Linked DNA regions of Homo sapiens: all the other regions are linked to region 4. The links are contacts of gene promoters, found by promoter capture Hi-C in human tissues and cell types (Jung and others, 2019). All regions are on one chromosome and are shown on one strand. The core of a region is centred on a gene start or on the middle of the fragment in contact, and the rest is flanking DNA. Distances in the headings are between cores, read along the strand shown.

Evidence for each region. The method cuts DNA at HindIII sites, captures the fragments that hold promoters and counts their contacts. A contact is called where the count stands out against the background at its distance.
Region 1: a fragment that was not itself captured here is called in contact with the fragment with the promoter of ZNF134 in region 4 in 2 of the 25 tissues and cell types used here (dorsolateral prefrontal cortex and hippocampus).
Region 2: a contact is called between a fragment that was not itself captured here and the fragment with the promoter of ZNF134 in region 4, in 1 of the 25 tissues and cell types used here (bladder).
Region 3: a fragment that was not itself captured here is called in contact with the fragment with the promoter of ZNF134 in region 4 in 1 of the 25 tissues and cell types used here (neural progenitor cells).

The regions. Positions count from the first base shown.
Region 1 is chr19:57,368,493-57,371,790 of GRCh38, forward strand. ZNF547 (zinc finger protein 547) reads left to right here. Exons shown (of 4, transcript NM_173631.4): 2 at 52-87; 3 at 3,290-3,298. The coding sequence starts at 64. Among named protein-coding and RNA genes, the nearest start is that of ZNF547, 6.6 kb to the left of the region's middle. The HindIII fragment of the contact is 8,803 bases long and covers 1-3,298 here.
Region 2 is chr19:57,419,475-57,423,078 of GRCh38, forward strand. ZNF17 (zinc finger protein 17) reads left to right here. Exons shown (of 4, transcript NM_001330617.2): 4 at 161-2,460. The coding sequence ends at 2,007. Among named protein-coding and RNA genes, the nearest start is that of ZNF17, 10 kb to the left of the region's middle. The HindIII fragment of the contact is 3,428 bases long and covers 1-2,975 here.
Region 3 is chr19:57,468,116-57,471,693 of GRCh38, forward strand. It overlaps ZNF772 (zinc finger protein 772), which reads right to left. Exons shown (of 4, transcript NM_001144068.2): 4 at 1,471-3,578. Among named protein-coding and RNA genes, the nearest start is that of ZNF772, 7.7 kb to the right of the region's middle. The HindIII fragment of the contact is 7,443 bases long and covers 1-3,578 here.
Region 4 is chr19:57,612,534-57,616,239 of GRCh38, forward strand. It overlaps ZNF134 (zinc finger protein 134), which reads left to right and starts at 1,709. Exons shown (of 3, transcript NM_003435.5): 1 at 1,709-1,970. It also overlaps a transcript of ZNF530 not described here. RefSeq lists an enhancer at 1,604-1,783 and a silencer at 1,914-1,963. The HindIII fragment of the contact is 8,655 bases long and covers 1-3,706 here.

The DNA of each region.
Region 1 (3,298 bases), core at 1-2,500, 240 kb before region 4:
GTAAGATCTTCCCATCGTTGCCCATTTCTCACGGTTTCCCTCTTCCTTCAGGGTCCCCTGGCGATGGCAGAAATGAACCCTGCACAGGTGAGTGGAGTGTTTTCTACCTTTCACCTACCAGTTATCTCATAGATGGTTTTGGCACCTCCATGTAAAGAAAAGTGGTGTCCAGAGACTCTCTTTCTGTCTTTCTCCCTCTCTTATGTCTGAAAAGTGAGTGATTCCACCAGTTCTAGTATCTTAAATTAGGTCTGGGATTTTTGTTTGATTGTTTTAAGTTTACTGTGACACCTTACCTGGATGGCCCTGGATTATGTGGAGTGGCTCCCATTTTTGACAGTTGACGTGGTAACATCTGTCAGAGTGTCATGGGCACAAGATTAAGAATGTTTCAGTGTTTAGAGGAGAGACTGAACTGGATTTTTAGGGAACTGCAAGTGTCTGTTATATCGGATAGGAATAGGGAGCAGAGTGGGAGGTGGCTAGAGACACACAAACATCAGGCCTGGAATGACAGCCTAGGTCCTGGGTCTCTAATCTAAGGGAGGTGGTAGATGGGGAAGATTTGAAGCAGAAGAGGGCAGTGATAGGACCCTAGCTTAAGGAACTTTCTTTGGCGTCTGAGTGGAGGACAGACTGTGGAGGTGAGGGTAATGGCAGGGAGATCTGAGAGGATGTTCCTGCAGCAGTCTAGGTGGATGTTGGTGGTGACTTGTCAAGAGTAGCGGTGGCTTCAGGATGTGTTTTGAACTGGAGCTGCCCACATTTTATGATGTAGAGAGTGAGGCAGCTGGGGGGGTGGGATAGAAGGGGAATCAGGAGTGGCCCCATGGTTTTTGTTTGGAAGCATAGATGCTCCATCAGCTAAGATGGGAGAAGTCAGCAGTATTAGGAATTTTCAGAGTGAGTGTGAGGAGTCAGTGTTTGTTCAAGCCACAGATGTCTCAGAGACTCCTGGTGGAGGAGTTCAGGTTGGAGACGTCCACACTATGGTGGCTGTCGTATGGACCAGGATGAAGCCATGGATTCAGTTTAGGTGACAGCATCTCTAGGTTATGGTGGCAGTGCTGTTCGAAGACAGAGAATTGGAATGGGGCATGAGAACTGGGTCTCTTACTGGGTAGCTGTGCAGTGGTGGAGGAGTCACTAGACAAATGAGGGAATGGAGTGTTTGTGGGGATGAGTGTATGTGAGATGGTGGGGTATAGGAGTGAGAAAGACTTCTGAAGGAGAGTGGACATGATGGGGTTGCTGAGGAGGGTAATAGGGTGAGGTCGGAGAGTTGCTAAGCATCAGTTGGAATGAGATGAGGATGGGAATTCTATTAGTCTGTTTTCATATTGCTACAAAGAACTACCTGAGACTGGGTACTTTATGAAGAAAAGAAGTTTAATTGACTCACAGTTCTTTTTTTTTTTTTTTTTTTTTTTTGAGATGTGGCCCAGGCTGGAGTGCAGTGGCACAATCTCGGCTCACTGCAATCTCTCCCTGCCAGGTTCAAGCGATTCTTCTGCCTCAGCCTCCTGAATAGCTGGGACGACAGACTCACCCCACTACGCCCAGCTAATTTTTGTATTTTTAGTAGAGATGGGCTTTCACCATGTTGGCCAGGATGGTCTTGATCTCCTGACCTCGTGATCCATCCTCCTCAGCCTCCCAAAGTGTTGGGATTACAGGCGTGAGCCACCGCACCCAGCCCATAGTTCTTCAGGCTTAACAGGAAGCATAACTCGGAGGCCTCAGGAAACTTACAATCCTGTGTCCATGAGGCAGGACACAGCTGAGAGTATGTGAAGTCCTCACATGGTTTGGGCACCTGACAGTGAAGTGAGAAACAGGGCCATGTAGGGAACCTTCAACCCAGGGCTTAGGGCTGCCCCCGGTGCTAGGGAACTTTGGTGTTCTGGGGCAGGACTGGGAGTGAATTGGATGCTGAGCGTATTTGCCGTGCACCACCTGGTTTCTGTGTGCAGAGTGGCCTGTTAGGAGGTGAAGGAAATGCCTGTGGTGTGGGCTGGGAGGTGTCTGTGGAATTGACTGGAGTGGAGGTGTGAGAGATGGGATTGGAGTGCTGTCCAAAGAGTGATGTGCAGGCAGGAGGAGTGTGAATGGAGGGCCTCAGGCCCTGGCCCTGGTAGCTCAAGGGAGGAGGATGAGTCTGAGTTTGGTTGTCTTGGGAGGCAAGATCTGGGTGACTCCATGGAAACTGGCTGGCAGGAGAGGATGGATCCCCCCACGGGAGGCCCACATTCCTTTTCTACCTTATCTTCCATCTGTTTCCTCTGTGTGCTGGACACGGTGGCCAATGTCAATATGGAGAGAAAAGTCACTCATGCCACCTGGATGTGGTTTCTCTTCCACATTGGGAGGGTGTAGAGATTGAGGAAGGAAAGGAGGTGTAGGGGAGAGGGATGAGTTCCTGGAGAGAGAAAAGTAGCAGTGATTGTACCCATTGGGGTTTTTTGTTTTTTTTTTTTTAGATGGAGTCTTGCTGTGTTGTCACCCAGGCTGGAGTGCAGTGGCATGATCTTGGCTCACTGCAACCTGCACCTCCTGGATTCAAGCAGTTCTGCCTCAATCTCCCAAGTAGCTAGGACTACAGGCATGTGCCGCCATGCCCACCTAATTTTTGTATTTTTAGTAGAGATGGGATTTCACTGTGTTGGCCAGGCTGGTCTTGAACTCCTGACCTCAGGTGATCTGCCCGCCTCAGCCTCCCAAAGTGCTGGGATTATAGGCATGAGCCACTGTGCCTGGCCCCCATGGAGTTTTAATTTATGGATGTGAGTGAGTGATGCCAGGGACAGGCCAATGACACTGAAAGAAGATATTTATTCCTTACGTTTCCCTAAGGAGGTTACATACCACATAACACAGGGCCACACGGTGAAACACCAGATTTGATCAGGAGGAAAATTGGAGTGAGTTTAGTTTAGTCCACAGATGCTGTTGGGGTTTCCAAGGGAAACAAGGCAGGGCTGGCTGTCAGGATAGTTTGGCTAGTTTTAGTAATTCCAGGACACCTGGGCTATTGGGACTGTCCCTAGTTGTGCAGTACCTGTCCCTGGGTTGATTTAGAGCATGGGAAATACTGACTTGGTTTGAGAAAGTTAGAGATGGAGATGGTTAAGAATATGTGCCCAGGATGGTAGGGGAGATGGAAACACATTTAGCTGTTAGTTTGTCCCTGTGTTTAATGGGTGGTAAATATAAGTAGAAAATAAATAGAGAACTTAAGTAAATACAGTTTGAAAAGCTGCTCATGTATTCATCTTTCCCAATTTGGCAGGGTCATGTG
Region 2 (3,604 bases), core at 12-2,511, 190 kb before region 4:
CCCGGTTCTGCCCAGTAGGCTTTCCTCTCACTGGCTTTAATGTCCCATGCCTGTCACCAATCCCATGGTCTTATTTGTGAGTTGGTCTGACAGACATTTGTTATGGGGCTGCCTCTTCCCTCCAAAGTCATCATGCACTTCATGAGCATTTCTGTTTTAGGTTGTTGGCATGGAGCCAAGGATGAGGAGGCACCTTCCAAGCAATGTGTTTCTGTAGGAGTGTCACAGGTCACAACTTTAAAGCCAGCTTTGTCCACCCAGAAGGCCCAGCCCTGTGAGACATGTAGCTCACTTCTGAAGGACATTCTACACCTGGCTGAGCATGACGGAACACACCCCAAGCGTACAGCCAAGCTTTACCTGCACCAAAAGGAGCATCTTAGAGAGAAGCTCACCAGAAGTGATGAAGGGAGGCCTTCGTTTGTGAATGACAGTGTTCACCTGGCAAAGAGGAACCTCACATGCATGCAGGGTGGCAAGGATTTTACTGGTGATTCAGATCTTCAACAACAGGCTCTTCACAGTGGGTGGAAGCCACACAGGGACACTCATGGTGTGGAGGCCTTTCAAAGTGGACAGAATAATTACAGCTGCACCCAATGTGGGAAAGACTTTTGCCACCAACATACACTGTTTGAGCACCAGAAAATCCACACAGAGGAAAGGCCTTATGAGTGCAGTGAATGTGGCAAATTGTTTAGGTACAACTCCGACCTTATTAAACATCAGCGAAATCATACTGGAGAAAGGCCTTATAAGTGTAGTGAATGTGGAAAAGCCTTCAGCCTCAAATACAATGTTGTTCAACACCAGAAAATTCACACTGGAGAAAGGCCTTATGAGTGCAGTGAATGTGGGAAAGCTTTTCTTAGAAAGTCTCACCTACTTCAGCACCAGAGGATTCACACCAGGCCAAGGCCTTATGTGTGTAGTGAATGTGGGAAGGCCTTCCTTACACAGGCTCACCTTGTTGGTCACCAGAAAATTCATACTGGAGAACGGCCTTATGGATGCAATGAATGTGGGAAATACTTTATGTACAGTTCAGCACTCATTAGACATCAGAAAGTTCACACTGGAGAAAGGCCTTTTTATTGCTGTGAATGTGGGAAATTCTTTATGGACAGCTGCACACTCATTATTCACCAGAGAGTTCATACTGGAGAAAAACCTTATGAATGCAACGAATGTGGGAAATTCTTTAGATACCGTTCCACACTCATTAGACATCAGAAAGTTCACACTGGAGAAAAGCCTTATGAGTGTAGTGAATGTGGGAAGTTCTTTATGGACACTTCCACACTCATTATTCATCAGAGAGTTCATACTGGAGAAAAGCCTTATGAATGCAACAAATGTGGGAAATTCTTTAGGTATTGCTTCACACTGAATAGACATCAGAGAGTTCACTCTGGAGAGAGGCCTTATGAATGCAGTGAATGTGGCAAATTCTTTGTGGACAGCTGTACACTGAAGAGTCATCAGAGAGTTCACACTGGAGAAAGACCTTTTGAATGCAGCATTTGTGGGAAATCCTTTAGATGTCGCTCCACACTTGATACACATCAGAGAATTCACACTGGTGAAAGGCCTTATGAGTGTAGTGAATGTGGGAAATTCTTTAGGCACAACTCAAATCATATTAGACATCGGAGAAATCACTTTGGAGAAAGGTCTTTTGAGTGCACTGAGTGTGGGAGAGTTTTTAGCCAAAATTCCCACCTCATTCGGCACCAAAAAGTTCACACTAGGGAAAGAACTTACAAATGCAGCAAATGTGGGAAATTTTTTATGGACAGCTCCACACTCATTAGTCATGAGAGAGTTCATACTGGAGAAAAGCCTTATGAGTGCAGTGAATGTGGGAAAGTCTTTAGATACAACTCCAGCCTCATTAAACATCGGAGAATTCACACTGGAGAGAGACCTTATCAGTGCAGTGAATGTGGAAGAGTCTTTAACCAAAATTCTCATCTCATTCAGCACCAGAAAGTTCACACCAGATAAAGAATGTATATATAAAGCAGATGGGGAAAGACTTCACACAGAAATCTACTCTGATTTAGCACTGGGACCTACGTTTTAAAAAAAGTATTCTTGTAGAATACAGATAACATAAAATCTAACATCTTAACCATGTTAAAGTGTATAGTTCAGTACTGTTAAGTCATTCACATTGTGCAATGAATATCTAGAAGTCTTTTCAACTTATGAAACTAAGTCTATACCTTTTAAAACCTTATTCCTCACTCCATCCAGCCTCTTGACAAGCACCGCTCTGTATGAATTTTACTAGTCCGGGTACCTCATATAAGAAAACTTAAGTTTTGGTCTTCTTGTGGTTTATTTTGTGGCTTATTTTGCTTAACGTTATATTTTTAAGGTTTCATGTTCTAATCCATTAGAATTTCCATCCTTTTTAAAGGCTGAATAAAATTCTGTTAGTCATGTGTTGCTTAACAGTGGGGAAGTGTCCTGAGAAAAGTGTTATTAGGTGATTTTCTTTCTTTTTTTGGTGGTGGGGGGGTTGCGTGAATGCCTAGGCTGTATGGTATATCCTATAGCACCTTGCTACAAACTTGTATAGCATATTACTGTACTGAATACTGTAGGCTGTTGGAACACATGGTAAGTAATTGTTTTTAAGTATATCTAAACAGAAAAGGTACAGTAAAAATACAGTATAAAAGAAAAAATGATAGACTCACAGAGAACTTACCATGAATGAAGCTTACAGTACTGCAAGTTGCTCTAGGTGAGTCAGTGAGTGGTAAGTGAATGTGAAGGCCTAGGTTGTTACTGTGCTGTAGACTTTATAGACATTGTGTACTTAGACGACAATACATTTTTATTTTTATTATTATTTTTGAGACAGAATCTTGCTCTGTTGCCCAGACTAGAGTGCAGTGGTGCAATCTTGGCTTCCTGCAACCTCCTCCACCTCCTGGTTCAAGCAGTTCTGCCTCAGCTTCCCAAGTGTCTGGGATTACAGGCATGCACCACCATGCCCCGCTAATTTTTGTATTTTTAGTAGAGAACGGGGTCTTACCATGTTGGCCAGGCTGGTCTCAAACTCCCGACCTCAAGTGAGCCACTCGCTTTGGCCTCCCAAAGTGCTGGGATTACAGGCATGAGCCACCGTGCCCGGCTGGACAAAATTAAATTTATAGAAATTTTTCTTTAATATATTAACCTTAGCTGACCATTTTTTACTTTATAAGCTTGTATTTTTAAAAACTTTTTGACTTTTGTAATAATGTTTTGCTTAAAACATTGTACAACTGTACAAAAATATTTTTTATATCCTAACTTCTTAAATTTTTTTTGTTAAAAACTAAGATACACACATTTGTCTAGGCCGGCACAGGATCAGGATAATGTCATTTTATTCCACCTTCACAACCTGTTCCAGAAGATCTTCTGGGACAGTAACACACATGGAGCTGTCATCTAAAATAACAATGCCTTTTTCTGGAATACCTCCTGAAGGACCTGCCCGAGGCTGTGTTACAGTTTGTGTGTATGTACACCTGTATATTTATAGACATACACACAACTCCATATATACTCTACTGTTGGAGAACACCTAATGATAAAAAGTGTA
Region 3 (3,578 bases), core at 719-3,218, 140 kb before region 4:
ATTTTTGTAGTACTAAGCCTGGGACAAAGATCCAGATATATTTTTTATTACACCACAGACTGTATTTAATATAATAATTAATAGATTTTCTACTGTTAAACCAACTTTAAGATCCTAACAAATCTCAAGGCTGGGTGCGGTGGCTCACGCCTGTAATCCCAGCACTTTGGGAGGCCGAGGCAGGCAAATCATGAGGTCAAGAGATTAAGGCCATCCTGGCCAACATGATGAAACCCTGTGTCTACAAAAAATACAAAAATTAGCTGGGCATGGTGGCGTGCACCTGTAATCCCGGCTACTCAGGATGATGAGGCAGGAGAATTGCTTGAACCCAGGAGGCGGACGTTACAGTGAGCTGAGATCGCGCCACTGCACTCCAGCCTGGCAATAGAGGGAGACTCCGTCTCAAAAAAAAAAAAAATCCTAACAAATCTCACTAGAATATGACTTATTCTTTCTCTCTAAGAGATATATAGATATATGTATTAAATATCTTTAGTAGAGGATTTTTCAGATCTCGAGTGAGCCTGGTCAGTTGGTATCTTTCAATGGATTTTTGTTTTCCAAGTTTCAACTTACTGAGAAAGGGTTGTTTAAAACAATCACACATTATCCATTATATGTTTCAAAGTTATCTAGTACTATACTATGTTTCATTGCTCCTATCTGTAATATGTGATTTACGTTCTTTCTGATTAAAAAAAGGAGACACCTTGAATAAATTATTAAAATTGATAGACCTTCCACTATATCAGAAAGAAAAAACATGGGTTCATAGATTTTCTCAAAAAAGAAAAAACTAAATAAGGTTACTGTGAAAATTAATTCTGAGGCCCTAGTACAAAGATGGAGAGCTCAGAGCCCAAAAGTCATCCTGTGTTAAGGAGACATAGCTAAGAGTCTCGGTTTGCCAAGGTAGCTGGAGTCTACAGAGCAGAGTACAGGAGAGAAAAAACTTCAGAGATATAGAGGGCCATCCCCAAGTATTCAGCTGAGTATAATCTGTGTTTGCATATAGAAAAAGACCAGAGGATGGGTAAAGAACCACCTGAAAGGATTATACGGGAAGCAATTCCCAAGGCTTATACAGAAAACATGATAGTTCTCATTTCAACCAGCTTGAGTAAAAAAAACTCATAACTCATGAAGCATTAGGTAGAGAATATAGGAAGGTTGTGTCTCAGTAATGGGAGGGGAATTTGTCTTAAAATGTATGCTGCAATAATCTCATCGAGAAATGTTTAGAATCAAGACTCCCCAAAAGATCATATTGTTTCCAAGTAACTTAACCATGTAACAGAAAAAAGAAATCAAGAATATCTATAGAAAATTAAAAAAAAATCAGTACCTAAAATTCAGTGTCCATTCAAAATTAAACCATGTTAACAGTATCAGACAAGGGAGATTTTAGAGAAAGAATATTACCAGAGATTAACAGGATCATAATGATAAAGTGGTCAACACATCAAGTGGACATAAAATAGGAAATATTTATTATTCACCTAATAAAAACATACTAAAATATGTGAAGCAAAATCTGACAGAACTGCAGAGAAGTAAATCCAATTTAATATTCAGAGATGTCAACAATCCTCTTAAAATAATTGCTGGAACCAAAACCACAGAATGTCAATAAAGATAGAAAAAACTTAAATAACATCAACCATTTTTACCTAATCAACACTTGTAGAACCCCTTCATCAAACGAGAGTACAGTATACATTTCAAGTGAACATGTAACTCATACCAAGATAGCCCATATTCTGGGCCACAAAGCAAATCTCAATAAATGTAAATAATTCAAGTCTTAATGTACTCTGACCACAATGGAATTATTGCAGAAACTACCAGAAAGATAAGCAAAATCCCCAAATATTTAGGAATTAAATAACATACATTTAAAAAGAGCCATGTGTCAAGAAGAATTTTTTTAACTGGAAAACATCCTAAACTCAACTAAAATGAAACCACATCGGCTGGGCTCACGCCTGTAATCCCAGCACTTTGGGAGGCTGAGGCAGGCGGATCACAAGATCAGGAGATCGAGACCATCCTGGCTAACACGGTGAAACCTCGTCTCTACTAAAAATACAAAAAATTAGCCAGGCATGGTGGCAGGCGCCTGTAGTCCAAGCTACTCGGGAGGCTGAGGCAGGAGAATGGTGTGAACCCAGGAGGCAGAGCTTGCAGTGAGCCGAGATCGCGCCACTGCACTCCAACCTGGATGACAGAGCAAGACACTGTCTCAAAAAAAAAAATGAAACCACATCAAGCTTGATGGGAGGTAATTAAAGCAGTTCTCAGATAGATTTTTAACATTAACATCTCTTCCCCATATTAGGGGAAAAAAACCCAAAGGTTTGAAATGAAGGACCTCAGCTTCCATGTTAAAAAGTAGCAAAAGAAATGAAATCCAATAAAAGCGGAAGGCATTAGTAAAACTCAAAATGGAAAAGAAAAATCCCAAAATATCAGAAAACAGAAAATTCAATAATACCAAGTACTTTAAGATCAATAAAATTGTAAAATTGATAAATCTCTACCCAAACCAATCAAGGTTAAAAGAAAAATATAGACATTACCAGTATCAGGAATAGAAGAGGTTGCACCACTACAAATTCTACAAGTATGAAAATAATATTTTGAAAAATTTGAGTACTTAAATAAAACAGAAAAACTCCTTGAAAGACACAAACCATCAAAGCTCACTCTAGAGATAGATGGATGGATGGAGTGACAAACAGATGGACGGACAGACAGATGTATATATAACTAGTATAGCCCTCCATCTACCATGGAAATCAAACTTGTAGTTAGATGCTGTCCTACAAAACACACTTCAGGGCCAGAGTGACAGACAGACAACACACACACAGACAGATGTACATATAACTTGTACAGCCCTCTATCTACCACAGAAATCAAACTTATAGTTAGAAACTTTCCTACAAAACAAACTCCAGGCCCAGACAGCTTCCTTGGTGAATTCTACCAAACATTTAAGGAAGAAATAATACCAATTATTCACAAACTCTTCCAGAGAGCTGAAGAGCAGGAATACTTCCCAACTTACTCTATAAAGCTGGCATTATGCTGATACCAAAGCCAAACCTGGGCAAGATATAAAATTACAAAGAAAAAAAAGCAAGCAAGCAAGAAAGAAAGTTAGGGACAAATATCACTCGTGAACATTGGTGCAAAACTTGTTACAAAAAAACAAAACAAAACAAAACAAAATAGCAAATCAAATTCAACAATATACTAAATGACTAATACATCATGACCAAATGGGAATTATTACAGAAATGCAAGGTTGGCTTAACATTTAAAAAAATCAGTCAATGTAATTCATATTAAACAACTAAAACAGAAAAAGAAAAAAACCATATAGGATTATGGTCACCAGAGTCCAAGAAAACGCCCCACAAATCCCTATTTTCACCTTTGTGTAGTTCTCTTCCACTTTTAACCAGGATTAGCTAGGGTTACTTATGAAATATAGCAGAAATGACGGCTCATCACTTTCAGTTTAAGGTAATGACAGATACTGTGGCTTTGTTCTTGTGTGAGTTCTCTCC
Region 4 (3,706 bases), core at 459-2,958:
GGCCTGGCATGGTGGCTCACATCTGTAATCCCAACTTTTTGGGAGGCTGAGGTGGGAGGATCCCTTGAGCCCAAGAGTTTGAGGCTGCAGCAAGCTATGATCGTGCCACTACACTCCAGCCTGTGCAACACAGTGAGATCCTGTCTCCAAAATTAAATAAATAAATAAAATTACATTTTGGAGACTAAACGCTGCTTGTAGTCATAGTTCTAACACAGCTGTGTGCTCAGCTTCATTTGCTCACTTCTCAGAATTCAATGTCTCCTGCTCAAATTTTGCTGTCATCTTAACCGTTTTCACTTATCACAGATATGTTTCTCCAGGTCCATTTCGTCATGTATCTGTGAATAACTACAGAATTATTAACTTTGAGTAATTTGGCCGGGCGCGGGGGCTCTCCTGTAATCCCAGCACTTTGGGAGGCTGAGGCGGGCAGATCACGAGGTCAGGAGATCGAGACCATCCTGGCTAACACGGTGAAACCCCATCTCTACTAAAAATACAAAAAGTTAGCCGGGCATGGTGGCAGGCGCCTGTAATCCCAGCTACTCCGGAGGCTGAGGCAGGAGAATAGTGTGAACCTGGGAGGCGGAGCCTGCAGTGAGCTATGGTCGCACCACTGCACTCCAGCCTGGGCGACTGAGCAAGACTCCGTCTCAAAAAAAAAAAACACAAAACAACTTTTGAGTAATTTAAACAATTCACAAATGTTTTTGTCTTTCTTTCCCCATACACTCGCCCTTTTCTTTTTTAAAACCATAAATAAATCTCAATTCTCAATTCAGACACTGTCGGTGTAATTGCAGGTGAAATGAGAATCACCTCCCAGCCAAGAAATCTGATCCCAATTTTCCAAATCTTTATTTCTGGGTTCAGACACCACATTTTCAGCCCCTGTCTTGGCATATAAAAGCATTTATAATGGTTCTTCTTTTCAGATAAGAAACATCACCAAAAGGAAATAGATATATCTCAACTTTTGGGCTAGGAACTCTCATTTGGATAAAAGAATATTTCTCCTTTGGTTGGACATTAGTGACCATACAGGCAGGAAAGGTGCCTTCCTTGACCACCTTCTCTCGCCTGTCTTCCTCCTCATGGTTCTCTCAGGTATTTTTTTTCTGAGGAAACCAGAGGAAGAGCTCTATATTAGTCCACTTGCCTCAGGGAGCTCCAGCATCCCTCCATAGCCACTGTCTGGAGACCATTCTTCCACTCCATGGCCCTGCCTGGGGACAATTCTCTGTTAACTCTGACCCAACTGAGGCTCACAAAACTGACTCAAAGCTTCCCTCTACAGTACACATATTTTTTAAATGAAGGAAATTTGACTGAACTATGAGTGGACTCAGAGTGACATTGGATGTTGTGTGTCCATTTGGTGGTGTGGCTTCAGGGAACATCTGTAAGAATATATCCCAATATTTCGGGGATCCCTGCAGACCTCACTACACAAGACCTGGTTGAGGGTCCTTTAAAAGGAGCGAAGCCACGCCCTGACCTCAGAGTCTCAGGGCATAATTTCTCAGCGCCCCTCGCAGTACCATTTGGCCTTTGCCCAGCGTGCAGGGGAGTTAGCCGTCACCACGGCCAAGTGCACATGAGAACTGCATTGCCCAGAAACCTGTGCGCCGCCCGGCGGCGGCACTCTTAGGGGCGTCTCCCTGCGGACGGAAGCTCTCTGGGCGGGACTTCCGGTATCTTCCTCGCGGTGGACATCTTGTCGGCTCTTAGGTGGAACCATCGGAGCAGAAGCTCGGGGTTGCTGGGCGGTTCCGAGGTGACGGAAGCGGGAGGGTGCGGGAGAAGTCGCTGTTCGCTCTGCGGAGTGGCTCGCCAGCGAAGACCCCGCCTGCGCCCCCGGGGACGGACGACCGCGGTGCCAGGGTCCCGCGACCTGGGACCCCCTCGCGGCTCCGGGTGGTCTACGAACTGTGATGGCGGCGGCCGCGGTGATGGGCCCGGCGCAGGTGGGTGCTGCCTTTCCCAGACTTTCGCCCGCCCCAAATCCTGAAGTTCCAAATGAGGAGCGCCTGTCTGAGTCCCTGCAGCGCAGGCCCCAGTGTCCAAGGCAGCGGGGCGCTGGTGGGTGGGGGCGAGTGTGACTGGCAGAGGGGCAGCCTGAGCATAGGTTTGGAGCTGGACTGAGCCCGTAGCAGTCGGGAGCGTGTGTGAACCGTAGTCAGGCCTGCAATGTCGAGGGGAGAAGTTGCTCCTTCATTGCGAGGACGATAGGAGCCATGGCGGGTTTTGAATGGTGGAGGGAAGGGATCCGAAAAAGGATTTTTAAAGTATTCCAATGTTTGCTGAGGAGGAAACCGACTACAGTGAGGTAGAAACGATGAGGATGGAGGCAAGGAGACGTTTGAGGAGGTCCCTGCAACAAACTCCAGAAGTGTTGCGGTGGTGGCTGGGCCAGAGCAGTGGCAGGAGGGGTTGGGTGGGGAAGTCATGAGATTCTGGGTAGATTTTTAAAGATGGAACCAATGGGGTTTCCTGCCGCATCAGATGTGGTCGTGAGTGAATGTAGGGAGGAAAGGGCTATCCAGGGTTTTTTTGGCCTGTTTTCCTTCCTGAACGTGTGAAAGAATGGAAATTGGTAAGTCACAGCAGGGAGCACGTTTCAGGGGCATCAGGAATTGGGTTTTGGACTTGGTGAATCTAAGGTGTTCTGCACTGGAGGTTCATCACGGGTAGCTGAACATGCAGGTCTGGGGTTCTAGAGAGGGAGTTGTGCTAGAGACTTCAATGGGTGAGGCATAAGGTCAAAGCCTGTAGTAGATCAGATTTAGAGGGTGGAATTTCAAGGAAGTTATTTTGTGTGGTCTCTGAAGTGAGAGGTGGGTTTAGGGTGGAAGGCCAGGGATGAAGGGGTGGACACTTAAGATTCCTTCCAGAAAGGAGGGGTCCTGGCATGTGAAAGCATTCTAGATGGTGTTGTTGGAAGTCAATGCTTGGTGCTGCAAAGTGAAACCAGCACTCAGGCAAAAGTTTTCTCAGCAAGGCAATTTACTTCTGTGCAAGTGTGCTGCCTGTGTTAATCACGATCCCAAGAGCACACTGAACAAAGGAGGGAAGGGGTTTTTATCTCTAACCCATAGTCCCTACCTTCCTCTGTGTCACTCCCCCATGGGCTGGGGTCGGACCGCTTAATCTAAGCTGAGCCAATTGGGTATTTGTGAGTATTTTCCAAATAAGGAAGAGGGAAGGGGAAGGTGAGTTACAGTGGTGGGACATGTGAGTTGTGTAGGACGTGTGGTTTTGGCGGGGGCAATGGGTGCAAAGTGAGTAAGGGAACAGATGTGAATTATTGGTTAGTGCTTACAGGAAGGTTGTTTATAGTAACTAGGGGCAAGGAGGCATGGAGAACAAGAAAGGTTTGAGAACAAAGAACAAGGAAGTTAACAGGCTAAACCTTTGAAGAGGAATTTTATTATATCTTATAGTGTCAGCAAGAGGAGAGGGCTGTAGAGCATAAGTAGCCTGGCCTGCACTGGAGACCAAGGTGAGGGATGCAGTAGGTTTGCCACCCTACAGGCTCAGCATGCCTTCATGGGCGCTGCCTGTGGAGCAGTCCCATCCCCAACCAGTGCATTGGTGCCTCAGTTACCCAAACCCTCAGGTAAGCAGAATTGATGAACATCTCTAATGAAGGATCACTGCAGCTCCCCTTCAGAGGAATATGTATCAGGTAGGCTGGTTTAGT